Regions from separate parts of the Homo sapiens genome. Here all the other regions are linked to region 1. Evidence: promoter capture Hi-C in 16 types of primary human blood cells and fetal thymus (Javierre and others, 2016). All regions are on one chromosome and are shown on one strand. The core of a region is centred on a gene start or on the middle of the fragment in contact, and the rest is flanking DNA. Distances in the headings are between cores, read along the strand shown.

The links. Contacts are between HindIII fragments. The CHiCAGO score rates a contact against its expected background, and 5 or more counts as called.
Region 2: a fragment that was not itself captured here is called in contact with the fragment with the promoter of CALHM5 in region 1 in 1 of 17 cell types (naive B cells); the score reaches 5.5 in naive B cells.
Region 3: a fragment that was not itself captured here is called in contact with the fragment with the promoter of CALHM5 in region 1 in 1 of 17 cell types (total CD8 T cells); the score reaches 5.1 in total CD8 T cells.
Region 4: a fragment that was not itself captured here is called in contact with the fragment with the promoter of CALHM5 in region 1 in 1 of 17 cell types (total B cells); the score reaches 5.7 in total B cells.
Region 5: a contact is called between a fragment that was not itself captured here and the fragment with the promoter of CALHM5 in region 1, in 6 of 17 cell types (neutrophils, total B cells, naive B cells and 3 more). The highest score is 10.3, in neutrophils.

The regions. Positions count from the first base shown.
Region 1 is chr6:116,510,350-116,512,956 of GRCh38, reverse strand. CALHM5 (calcium homeostasis modulator family member 5) reads right to left here and starts at 1,318. Exons shown (of 2, transcript NM_153711.5): 1 at 721-1,318. The coding sequence starts at 1,260. All of the region lies in intron 3 of TRAPPC3L (trafficking protein particle complex subunit 3L), which reads left to right. RefSeq lists an enhancer at 1,026-1,607. The HindIII fragment of the contact is 2,544 bases long and covers 568-2,607 here.
Region 2 is chr6:116,118,653-116,121,152 of GRCh38, reverse strand. The region is part of intron 6 of NT5DC1 (5'-nucleotidase domain containing 1); the gene reads right to left. It overlaps COL10A1 (collagen type X alpha 1 chain), which reads left to right. Exons shown (of 3, transcript NM_000493.4): 3 at 1-2,244. The coding sequence ends at 1,080. Among named protein-coding and RNA genes, the nearest start is that of COL10A1, 6.2 kb to the left of the region's middle. The HindIII fragment of the contact is 1,059 bases long and covers 721-1,779 here.
Region 3 is chr6:116,186,009-116,188,615 of GRCh38, reverse strand. The region is part of intron 6 of NT5DC1 (5'-nucleotidase domain containing 1); the gene reads right to left. It also overlaps a transcript of COL10A1 not described here. Among named protein-coding and RNA genes, the nearest start is that of COL10A1, 61 kb to the right of the region's middle. The HindIII fragment of the contact is 2,343 bases long and covers 146-2,488 here.
Region 4 is chr6:116,209,924-116,212,530 of GRCh38, reverse strand. All of the region lies in intron 6 of NT5DC1 (5'-nucleotidase domain containing 1), which reads right to left. It also overlaps a transcript of COL10A1 not described here. Among named protein-coding and RNA genes, the nearest start is that of TSPYL4, 43 kb to the left of the region's middle. The HindIII fragment of the contact is 3,295 bases long and covers 1-2,607 here.
Region 5 is chr6:116,228,147-116,230,753 of GRCh38, reverse strand. The region is part of intron 8 of NT5DC1 (5'-nucleotidase domain containing 1); the gene reads right to left. Among named protein-coding and RNA genes, the nearest start is that of TSPYL4, 25 kb to the left of the region's middle. The HindIII fragment of the contact is 1,023 bases long and covers 813-1,835 here.

The DNA.
Region 1 (2,607 bases), core at 69-2,568:
ATTTCCTTCTGTTAAATAAAACAATGCCCAAATCTTGAGCTTCTGAAGTAATTAAGAACCCCTTTAGCTGTACAGCACAAAGAGTATAAAACATAATCTCCCTAGAGAGTACAGTCACTTTTTCACAGAAGGCTATTTAAAAACTGCTGATTCCTACCATACAAGGAAAATTCTTCTCAATCTTGACAATATTTATACACAGAGATAGCAGTTGCCAGAAATCATTCAAGAGAATCTCCACACTAATTATATTACATGCAACTTTGAAAAGTAATAACTCATTTCATTCAGCTACATTTTAATAGATGAATAATACATGTGTGTGTTTGAGAAAACAACTTGAATGTAAATAATTGATAGAAGGCAGTAATTTCTAATTACAGCTCTGCCATTAACACTCAATTTATGATTTAGTGTTAGGCATTATTTATTTACAGACCCAGAGAGACTGTTTTAAAGTACTTAAGTATTTATATGTGGACAATCCAGTGGATATTTTCTTTTCAGAACCGGAAAAGAGATAATCCAGTCAGCAACTTTATTGAGCCACCCAGCCTTTCAAAAGCTTTTCCTGAGATAGTCTCAATGCTGCATCATGTTTCAGTTTCCATTTAGTTTCAAAATATTCTGACAGGACACAGACAGCCCTGGCTGAAAGGAGCACAGAGAGAATACTTCGAGCTCATGCTGAGAGAAAAAGGCGAGTTTGTCTTTTCTTACCTGAGACTGGGCCTGAAGGGAGAGTTTCAGTTCTTCATTGACGGTAGGTAGCATGCTAGTTTTGCCACAAGATACTTTGTGAAGTTCTTCCCAGCACTCTTTGGGCTTACCCTTGCAAATCAGTTCCAGGAGTCCTGAACTTCTCGTCCCGCTCATGGCACATTCATAGAAAGTTCCATTGAGCAGAGCCACAGAAAGCCACATCACTGGAGCCACCAATGAGCTCAGAGTGATCTGGCCGAGGACGTAGAAGAAACGGCAGCTGTGGCCTCTGGGAAAGATTTTCCTGGGATTCACACAGCAGCCTGTGAAGAGTCTCCACGACCTATTGTTCAGAAAGAATCCCAGGATCAGTAACACCCAGGCAGGAGCAAAGAGGAAAACCAGCCCATAGGTCATATTCTCAGTGCTGCAGGGGCACTTAAAAGCCACAACAGAAAAGAGACGCTCACTTCCCACGGTCAGCAGAGCCATGAAGCTGTAGCCAATAACAGTTTTCTGATTAAGGAAGAATTTTAAAATGCCCTGAAAAGCATCCATGTTGGAGATGCACAGAGGGAAAATGCTGTGCCTTTGTTATTGGCAGAGCAGCTGTGGCAGTGGCCGAGGGTGGAGCTCTTTCTTCATCAGAAACAACAGTCCTTCTCAGACTGAATTGAGCCAGATAAGGAAACAATGTCATTCCTTAGGAATGAATATTTCTCAACATGTTTAGATAATGCCTCCTACTGGTGGAAATTGGGCTGTGATACTGCAGCCTAAATGCTGAGAATAAATTCAAAGTGCACGGGCTCCATTTTAACCTTCTTTCCATGTGGTTTGGATTGAAAATCAGAAAAGAAATTCTCACTCATACAAATAATAGTCTAGGAATTTTCCAGTGTAAGGAATCAACATTAACAGAAAGAGGTTTCAGCCGACAAATCAAATCTCCAAACCTAGAATTTTATGAATGTTTTTCTCTTCCTATGACTTGAGATTTGGAAGACAGGGATTTGCTGTCTTTTTTCATATATATAAAAACATATGAAAATTATATATATATATATATATCAATAGCTTTTGGAGCACAAGTGGGTTTTGGTTACATGGATGAAATATACATATAAATATACATATATATATATATACATATATATATGAGATTTTAGTGCACCCATCACCGGATATGTATGTGTACCCAATATGTATTTTTTTATCCCTCACCCCCTTCCCACTCTCCCTCTTTCTGAGTCTCCAAAGTCCATTATACCACTCCATATGCCTTTACGTACCCATAGCTTAATTTCCACTTATAAGTGAGAACTACAGTTTTTGGTTTTCTATTTCCGAGTTACTTCGCTTGGAATAACGCCTCTAGCTCCATCAAGTTGCTGCAAAAGACATTATTTCATTCTTTTTTATGACTGAGTAGTATTCCATGGTATATATACACCACAGTTTCTTTATCTATTCATCAGTTGATGGGTACTTAGATTGGTTTCATATCTTTGCAATTGTGAATTGTGTTGCAATAAATATACATGTGCAGGTGTTTTTTTTTAATATATAATGACTTCTTTTTCTTTGGATAGATACCCAGTAGTGGGATTGCTGGACTGAATAGTAGATCTACTTTTAGTACTTAAAGTTCTTTCTTTAAGAATGAAAGAAAGGTGCCGTGGTTCATGTCTGTAATCCTAGCATTTTGGGAGGTCGAGGCAGGTGGATTGCTTGAGCCAAGGAGTACGAGACCAGCCTAGGCAACATGGTGAATCTCCCTCTCTACAAAAAAATACCAAAAAAAAATTAGCCAGGCTCGGTGGCATGCACCTGTAGTCCCAGCTACTCAGGAGGCAGAGATGGGAGGATCGCTTGAGCCCAGGAGGCTGAGGTTGTGGTGAGCCA
Region 2 (2,500 bases), core at 1-2,500, 390 kb after region 1:
AAAGGGGAACAAGGGCCAGCAGGTCTTCCTGGGAAGCCAGGTCTGACTGGACCCCCTGGGAATATGGGACCCCAAGGACCAAAAGGCATCCCGGGTAGCCATGGTCTCCCAGGCCCTAAAGGTGAGACAGGGCCAGCTGGGCCTGCAGGATACCCTGGGGCTAAGGGTGAAAGGGGTTCCCCTGGGTCAGATGGAAAACCAGGGTACCCAGGAAAACCAGGTCTCGATGGTCCTAAGGGTAACCCAGGGTTACCAGGTCCAAAAGGTGATCCTGGAGTTGGAGGACCTCCTGGTCTCCCAGGCCCTGTGGGCCCAGCAGGAGCAAAGGGAATGCCCGGACACAATGGAGAGGCTGGCCCAAGAGGTGCCCCTGGAATACCAGGTACTAGAGGCCCTATTGGGCCACCAGGCATTCCAGGATTCCCTGGGTCTAAAGGGGATCCAGGAAGTCCCGGTCCTCCTGGCCCAGCTGGCATAGCAACTAAGGGCCTCAATGGACCCACCGGGCCACCAGGGCCTCCAGGTCCAAGAGGCCACTCTGGAGAGCCTGGTCTTCCAGGGCCCCCTGGGCCTCCAGGCCCACCAGGTCAAGCAGTCATGCCTGAGGGTTTTATAAAGGCAGGCCAAAGGCCCAGTCTTTCTGGGACCCCTCTTGTTAGTGCCAACCAGGGGGTAACAGGAATGCCTGTGTCTGCTTTTACTGTTATTCTCTCCAAAGCTTACCCAGCAATAGGAACTCCCATACCATTTGATAAAATTTTGTATAACAGGCAACAGCATTATGACCCAAGGACTGGAATCTTTACTTGTCAGATACCAGGAATATACTATTTTTCATACCACGTGCATGTGAAAGGGACTCATGTTTGGGTAGGCCTGTATAAGAATGGCACCCCTGTAATGTACACCTATGATGAATACACCAAAGGCTACCTGGATCAGGCTTCAGGGAGTGCCATCATCGATCTCACAGAAAATGACCAGGTGTGGCTCCAGCTTCCCAATGCCGAGTCAAATGGCCTATACTCCTCTGAGTATGTCCACTCCTCTTTCTCAGGATTCCTAGTGGCTCCAATGTGAGTACACACAGAGCTAATCTAAATCTTGTGCTAGAAAAAGCATTCTCTAACTCTACCCCACCCTACAAAATGCATATGGAGGTAGGCTGAAAAGAATGTAATTTTTATTTTCTGAAATACAGATTTGAGCTATCAGACCAACAAACCTTCCCCCTGAAAAGTGAGCAGCAACGTAAAAACGTATGTGAAGCCTCTCTTGAATTTCTAGTTAGCAATCTTAAGGCTCTTTAAGGTTTTCTCCAATATTAAAAAATATCACCAAAGAAGTCCTGCTATGTTAAAAACAAACAACAAAAAACAAACAACAAAAAAAAAATTAAAAAAAAAAACAGAAATAGAGCTCTAAGTTATGTGAAATTTGATTTGAGAAACTCGGCATTTCCTTTTTAAAAAAGCCTGTTTCTAACTATGAATATGAGAACTTCTAGGAAACATCCAGGAGGTATCATATAACTTTGTAGAACTTAAATACTTGAATATTCAAATTTAAAAGACACTGTATCCCCTAAAATATTTCTGATGGTGCACTACTCTGAGGCCTGTATGGCCCCTTTCATCAATATCTATTCAAATATACAGGTGCATATATACTTGTTAAAGCTCTTATATAAAAAAGCCCCAAAATATTGAAGTTCATCTGAAATGCAAGGTGCTTTCATCAATGAACCTTTTCAAACTTTTCTATGATTGCAGAGAAGCTTTTTATATACCCAGCATAACTTGGAAACAGGTATCTGACCTATTCTTATTTAGTTAACACAAGTGTGATTAATTTGATTTCTTTAATTCCTTATTGAATCTTATGTGATATGATTTTCTGGATTTACAGAACATTAGCACATGTACCTTGTGCCTCCCATTCAAGTGAAGTTATAATTTACACTGAGGGTTTCAAAATTCGACTAGAAGTGGAGATATATTATTTATTTATGCACTGTACTGTATTTTTATATTGCTGTTTAAAACTTTTAAGCTGTGCCTCACTTATTAAAGCACAAAATGTTTTACCTACTCCTTATTTACGACGCAATAAAATAACATCAATAGATTTTTAGGCTGAATTAATTTGAAAGCAGCAATTTGCTGTTCTCAACCATTCTTTCAAGGCTTTTCATTGTTCAAAGTTAATAAAAAAGTAGGACAATAAAGTGATGGGTGGCTTTTACAGTTGTCATGGATATGTCCCTATATTGGTGATGCATCTTTATTCCCACAGACCCAACCACTCATTGTTGACTGTGAAGAGGTACCCACAAAACCACATGCAATCTGAGTCAGGGTCAAGGGCTGATGACTAGGGATAGAAAAATGACAAAATCACCCCAAAGTTGTAATTTTCTCCTGGGAGGGAAAGAAGCAGGTGACAGAGAAATATGCAGTTTGAACAAATATTCTGCAGTTACTATTTATTGTCTTGACAT
Region 3 (2,607 bases), core at 68-2,567, 320 kb after region 1:
GGCTTTACTACCTAATTATGCTCTAGTGTAACCCATTTTAATATCTATTTTATAAATGCAACCATAGAATATGTATATCCTGTATTACTGGCTTTTTCTCTCTCATTTTCTGTTTTTAAGATTCATTCATGTTGTTCATAAAGCTTCATTTTCATTGATGAATAGAATGTCACTGTATGACACACTGCATAGCAACTGCACTATTGAGGGATATTTGGGCTGTCTCTAATTTGGTGTAATAGTGAATGCCACTAAGAACATTCTGGATGGTATATATTGCAGCCTAATATGGCTGTGTCATAGGGAATGCTCACTTTCAACTTTATAGGATAATACTCAACAATTTTCAAAACCAACTCAACAATTTACACTCCCACCAGCAGTTTAAGGGTTCTCTTTGCTTCACATCCTCACCAACCACTGAAATCACTAGATTCTTTAATTCCAACTATTCTGATGGATATCTAGTGGTACCTCATTGAACTTTAATTAGCACTCTCATGACTGTTAATAAGCATAAGCACATTTTCATGTTTATTGGCCATTTAGAGTTCCCTATTTGTAAACTGCCTGTCAAGACTTTTGTTCATTTTCTACTGGGTTGCTGTCTTCCTGTTACTGATTTATAGGTCTTTTTTACACTAGATAAAAGTCTTTTTATCATTATATGTATTCCAAATATCTTCTCTTCTATAACTTGCCCTTTCGTTCTTAGTAATTTTTTATGAAGAGAGACGTTTAATGTTTGTCAAATTTATTCACTTTTCCTTTACAATCAATCAATACTGTTTCTATCCTATTTAAGAAATATTTCATTATCTTTAAGCTATGAAGCTATTTTTCTCAGATTTTCTTCTGATAGCTTTACTGATTTGCCTTTCATATTTGTTTCTATAATCCATGTGAAATTGATTTTTGTCTAATATGTGAGTAGGGATCAAGTTTTATGAATTTCTACATAGATTTCCAACTCTCCAGGCACCCTTTATGACAGTCCTTTCCCCACTGCTCTGCTGTACCTGTTCTGTCATCAAGCATGTGTCTACAACTGCAAAGGTCTTTTCTGGCATCTCCGGTTCAGTGATCTTCTAGTTGTCAGTCTTTATACCAAAAGCACTCTGACCAAATTACTGTAACTTTAAAATAAGCCATGAATTATTTGCTAGTGTCTTGTAGGACAGACCCTCTTGCCCTGTTCTTCATGAGTGTCTTGGCTCTTCATGGCCCTTTTCATTTCCATATAAATTGTGGCATGAGCTTCAGTTTTCTATAAAGAAACTTGTTAAAATTTTGGTTGGACTTAACAAAAATACAACTAATGACCCTCACAGAGTCCACTTCGCTCCCCTGCTACCTTTCCTGGAGCAGGTGCTGGTAGCCACAGCTAAGAGACCTGAATACAGATCACATCACAGGACTCTGTGCAGACACTTCCCAGTACCAGATCAAAGCCCAGTAGCTCTGCTGGGTGGCTAGATTCAGAGGAGAAATAGCATCACTGCAGTCTGGCTCTCAGGGAGCCATTTCTAGGGGAAAGGGGAGAACACCACAACAAGGGAGCACCCTGTGGGACAAAAGAATCTGAACGGTAGCCCTTGAGTCCCGGATCTACCATCTGACATAGTTTACCCAAATGAGAAGGAACCAGAAAAACAATTCTGGTAATATGACAAACATGGTTAACACCCCCAAAAGATAACACTAGCTCACCAGCAATGGATCCAAACTAAGACTAAATCTCTGAATTGCCAGAAAAAGAATTTAGAAGATCAACTATTAAGTCAATCAAGGAGGCACAAGTCCAACTTAAAGAAATCAAAAAAATGATACAGGATACGAATGAAAAAATCTCCAGTGAAATACATGGCATAAATAAAAAAGCAATCACAATTTCTGGAAGTCAAGGACACACTTAGAGAAATGCAAAATGCACTGGAAACTCGCAGCAACAGAATCGAACAAGTAGAAGAAAAAGTCAGAGCTCGAAGACAAGGCTTTCAAATTAACTCAATCCAACAAAGACAAAGAAAAAAGAATTAAATAAAAATGAACAAAGCCTCCAATAAGTTTGGGATTATGTTAAATGACCAAACCTAAGAACAACTGGTGTTCCTGAGGAAGAAGAGAAATCTAAAAGTCTGGGAAACATGTTTGAGGGAATAATCGAGGACAACTTCCCCAGCCTTGCTAGAGATCTAGGCATCCAAATACAAGCAGCTCTGGGAAGAACACCTGGGAAATTCATCGCAAAAAGATCACCACCTAGGCACACAGTCACCAGGTTATCTAAAGTGAAGATGAAAAAAAAAAAAAATCTTAAGAGCTATGAGACAAAAGCATCAGGTAACTTTTAAAGGAAAACCTATCAGATTAACAGCAGATTTCTCAGCAGAAACCCTACAAGCTAGACAGCATTGGGGTCCTACCTTTGTTCTCCTTAAACAAAATAATTATCATATAAGAATTTTGTATCCAGTGAAACTAAGCTTCATAAATGAAGGGAAGACACAGTCTTTTTTAGACAAACAAATGCTGCGAGAATTTGCCATTACCAAAAGAGAACTACAAGAACCACTATAAGAAGCTCTAAATCTTGAAAGAAATCCT
Region 4 (2,607 bases), core at 34-2,533, 300 kb after region 1:
CTTACTAATAAAGCCAAAAGTATGCAGAGTTGTATTTCACTTAGAAGCAATCCATTTCAGAACACACATAAAGATTATAATCACAAAGGATTACTTGTTCAATGTCCAGACAGTGTATTATATAAATAGGAAAGCCCTCTCTAGCCTCCTAGGTCTGTGCCACATCTATACCTTGCATAGACAGAGTAGTTAAGCAGCTATTTTAATGAGGCACTACTCTGTTTTTCACTATACTTTTCCACCTGTATTTGTATCAGTCATATCTTCTATATGCTTTCATAAAATATCACCTGGCTAGTTACTCCATGATAACAAAAGAAAAAGGAAAAAAGAACATACTAAAGTTTCAAATCAGTGAGATTTTAACTCTGATAATTGTTTTGACAGAGTTATTAACTTTTTAATAAAAAATTTGAAAAAGAATTGATAAAATAGTATTAGAATAATGAAATAATTTCTTTGATATAACAAACATAAATATATAGGATAGTCTATGTGTAATACTCTGCAACATTGCTTGAGGAGTAATAATGCCCTAAGCCTGGGTTCTTATCCTAAAATCCATACACAGGCCTCACTGCGTGAATGAAACCCCAATACTCTTTGCAACATTTTGTTCATCAGTGTGTTGTGTGTGTTGGGGGATCAGAGCAGGTGTAGGCTCTCTAGCTTTAATTAGATTCCTGAGGCTAGGGACATGAAGAACCACAGACTTAGATTCTCTTAGATTTGCACAGTACAACAAAGCAAACATTCCAATATCCCTCCCTTTGTTATAGTCGAGAAAAATCTTATAAAAATGTCTTAGAAAAAGGAAATTCTCTGTAATAGGTAGTACAGAATTTGTACACAGTTTGTCCAGGAATAAATATACTTCGTGGACTCTATATTTTTTACATGTAAATTATTCTAAGTCCAATACATTTATACTTATTTGGCATGGCTAATGAATGGCTGTTCTAGTTAAATTAATTTGTAGGTTAATTAAGAATAACCAAATATACAATATAAAAACATACATAAAATACAGTCAACTCTTACTGTTGAACCTATATGGAAAAAAGAACTATTTAAAGAGATTAAATTATTGCTTTTCTTATATATGATACACTTTTGCTAGAGAAAATTCATTGTATTGGGTTTTTTATTGCTGCACAACAAACCACCTCAAACATGATGGCTTAAAATAACAATGTATTATCATCTCCTGATTCTGAGGGTTGACTGAACTCAGCCAGGCATTTCTCACTTGGAGTTGTGCCCGGGGGTATGGAATCATCTAAGGGTTTCTTCACTCACTGTCTGGCACCTGGGCTGGGCTGGCTGGAACGGTGAGAGCTGGTGAAACAAACATCTCTCCACTTAGCTAGCTTGAGCTTTCTCTCTGCATTTGGGTCTCACAGTAGTTGGACTTCTTAAGTGGCGGTGGGTTTCCCCCAGAGCAAGTGTTTTAAGACAAGCAAAAGCTGCAAGGCTCCTTATGACCTAGTTTTAGGAATTTTACAGTAGCACTTCTGCTGAATTTTACTGATGATAGAGGTCCAGCTCATTTTCAAGGAGAAGAAAACAGAAAGGTGTGACTTCTGGGAGGCATGATTCATTAGAGAGCTATCTTTGTAGACTAGCTGCCAAACATACTAATACTTCTATGTGATTCCTGCCAGTATATTTTCTGTTCATATCTAACTCTGTGGGAATTTTAAGCATACCATATATAGTTTTTTTTACCTGTGTTTCTGTTCAGCATTGTATCTGAGGAATTTCCTATGGCATTAACATTTATTTTAAAACATTTCCATGGTTTTAACTTAATATCACTTTTAAAATAGATTATTTATAATAATTATCCTCATAATAACTGACATAATCTGAGTGCTTATTTTTGCCAAACACAGTTCCAAGACCTTTATAACTATTAATGGATTTAATCCTCATAATGACCCCAGGAACAGGTCCTATATGATTCCCGTTTTGCAACTGAAAATCCGAGATACAGAGAGGCTAAGGAACTTGCCCAAAGTCACACAGCTACCATGTGGCAGAATCGGAATTTGAATGCAGGCGGTCTGCTTTCGGAGCTTGTGCAATACTGCCCAGTTACAAGGCATTTGGGGACTCTATGGTAACTACAGGGTCACCACAAATCTTTACTCTTTTTTTTTTTCACATGGTACATTATTACATTTCAGGGGTTTGAGGTTGTTCAGAATTTTAATAAGTGAGAGTTCAGAATTTGGATAAATTTTGACAAATCAAATTAGCTTCTTTTTGAACCTTACATATAAATTTATTTAAAATCTTGCAATGTGGAAAGTCTTTTAAGCATGGCACTGAACTCAAAAGCCATAAAGGAAAATTGAAACACCAAATTAGATTTCTGCAGAGGAAAAAAGTATCCATCAATATGCATTCTAATTATATCTAGAATTAAAAGGAGCCTTAGAAATCACACCCTTCAACCTTGTCATATTAAAGATGATTAAGTAGCCACCACATATTTTGCTCAAAATTACGGTTAGTAACAAACTTGGGTATGGAATAGAGTCCTCAAGAATCCTAATCCACTAAACCTCATCATTTATGTGTCTAAATCTATATGTTTGAGAT
Region 5 (2,607 bases), core at 75-2,574, 280 kb after region 1:
CAGAGAAGGAAACAGCTCTGACTGGAGCTGCAGAAGGAAGGTATCGCAAAGGAGGTGTGATTTGTATGTCTGACCTTAAATAAGAGGTAGGAAGTCACCAGAGAGGAAAGGGAGAAGGCATTCTACATATATCTATGCCACTCAAAGTGTGATCTTCCAACCAGTAGCATCTGCTTCACCAGACAAGTTATTTAGAAATGCAGAATCTAAGGTTTCACCAGGGCCTCTGAATCAGAATCTCCATTTTAACAAGATCTCTAGGTGATTCACGTGTACATGAAAGTCTGAGAAACACTGATGTTGACAGAATAGCGAGAACAAAAACTTGATATAAGAATAAAAGGCAATCATTTCAGTAGGAGTAAAGGGTACTTTTATGGAGATAGAGTTAAGGAAGATGGAAAGGTAATTTAGGAACAAGACTGTACAATTAGCCTTAGGATGCTATATGGAATGGAAGCCAATGAGATATTGTGTGCATGTGATTAAATATATTTGTGCCTAAGTAAATAATAAAAAAAGATGTGGGAAATTTTAAAGAACTCAAAAATAGAAGTCTGTGCTAATGAAAAGTGAAGAGAGGTTGGGGAGGGGTTAGATGGCCTAGTGGAAAGGGAGAGGAGGACAAAGATGAGAGATTTCCCAGGTATATTAAGCAGGATTTAATGCATAGCACACTGGAGGTAAAAGGGTGAAGACAACGGAGGTTATTAGCTGGAGAATTCTAATGGATGGTTAAGTAAAGAATACACACAAGGTGACCGGCATGTTTGGTTGTTTTTGGTTTCTAGGCGGAAGGAGAATCTCAAGCTTGATATCAGAACACTGAGTGGAGCTGCCTAGTGTGGAGGAGGAACTGCGTATGAGACTCAGGAAAACAGGTCTCAGGGAAAGATTTGGGAGTCAGAGTCAGTGTATTGGTGACAGCTAAGGCCAAGGGACGAGACAGAGAGAGAGAGAGGAGAGACAGAGAGAGTTGGCTCATGATTCTCCCAATGGTGGGCAGGGGCAGGAACTGAGCTAGCAGCATTGGCGACACTGCGGTGAACAAGGCTGACACGTTCCCTCTCCAATGATAATTTAATCTTGCAAGTCAGAGATTCCCCCGTATCCCCACCCTCAGCACTGGCGAGGATCTGGTGACGCACTGCACGTGATAGAGAACAGAGGATGAAGATTTTGCTTGGAAGACGCTTCTCCCCTCCATACATCCTTAAGCACTGGCAGGAATCAGACTGGAGGGAGGAGCTCAGTCCTGACTGACACTGGCATCAGCATCTTTGCCCCTGTTACCATGACAACCGCTGACGTCAAACCTGTGCGACTCGCTAAGGCCATGCTGTGTTTCGTGATTGGCTCGCTGTGCCTTCCATCCCAGCCAGCTCAGTTGCATTAACTTTACTTTAACCATTTGGAGCAATGACTTAAATATTGTGCCATTTCACACAAGGGATGATGCGGGCAGTGGTGGGAATGTAGTGAGGACAAACCTGAGAAAACAGAAGGACAACTTAAAAGGGAGGGAAGAAATGAGGATGACTGATTTTTTAGGTTAGTGCAAAAGTAATTGTGGTTTTTGCTTACTAGCTTGGTTAAAGTCTGTGCTTGGAAAAGTAACTAAAATGTAATTATGGAATATGGGAAGAGGGGCATGCTAAAATGGGATGGGGATTTAATGAGCTGTTGCAAGCACATCAACTTTCCTGCCACCCTGGGGCTGTGGGATGTGAAGATTTTAGAAGACAGATAGAAATGGGCTTCTGAAGGTCAGAGAAATGTGAAGCCCAGAGACAAGGAAATGTCAACCATCAGTATATAGATGATAGTTAAAAGCTTCCCAGTGGTAGAGAGCTGAAGGACAACAGGAGAAGAAAGGAGAGCCAAATACAGAATGTTAGGGAATATCAACATTAAAAGAGAAAGGTAGCAGAAATGGAGGTAAAGCAGTTAGAGGTAGCTGACGAATCAGAATCAGAATCAGCAGCAGAATAGACACATAATAGAGAATGTAATGAAGTAGGGATTTTAAAGTATGTGCAGTATAATCCTGTAATTAGTAATAGTTCTCGCAATCTTTTTTGCATTCTAAATAGAAAAAAGTATTTTGGTTTAATTCTAAAAAATATTTCTTCCACTGAAATATTTTAAATCAGAGGCCTAGAAAACAAGGGCTGGAAAGAACCTTAGACATCTAGCCCTCCTGGATGTGATAAAAATGAGCTAAACTTTTCTTCTTTTTTTTTTTGAGTCGGAGTTTCACTCTTGTTGCCCAGGCTGGAGTGCAATGGCGCGATCTTGGCTCACCGCAACCTCTGCCTCCCAGGTTCAAGCGATTCTCCTGCCTCAGCCTCTCTAGTAGCTGGGATTACAGGCATGTGCCACCATGCCCGCCTGATTTTATATTTTTAGTAGAGACGAGGTTTCTCCATGTTGGTCAGGCTGGTCTTGAACTCCTGACCTCAGGTGATTCGTCCGCCTCAGCCTCCCAAAGTGGTGGGATTACAGGCGTGAGCCACCGCTCCCGGCCAAAATGAGGTAAATTTTTCTAAATATCTGTACAAAAAGCATGAAATCCTATATACGCTGAGATTGCTAAGCACTTTACAG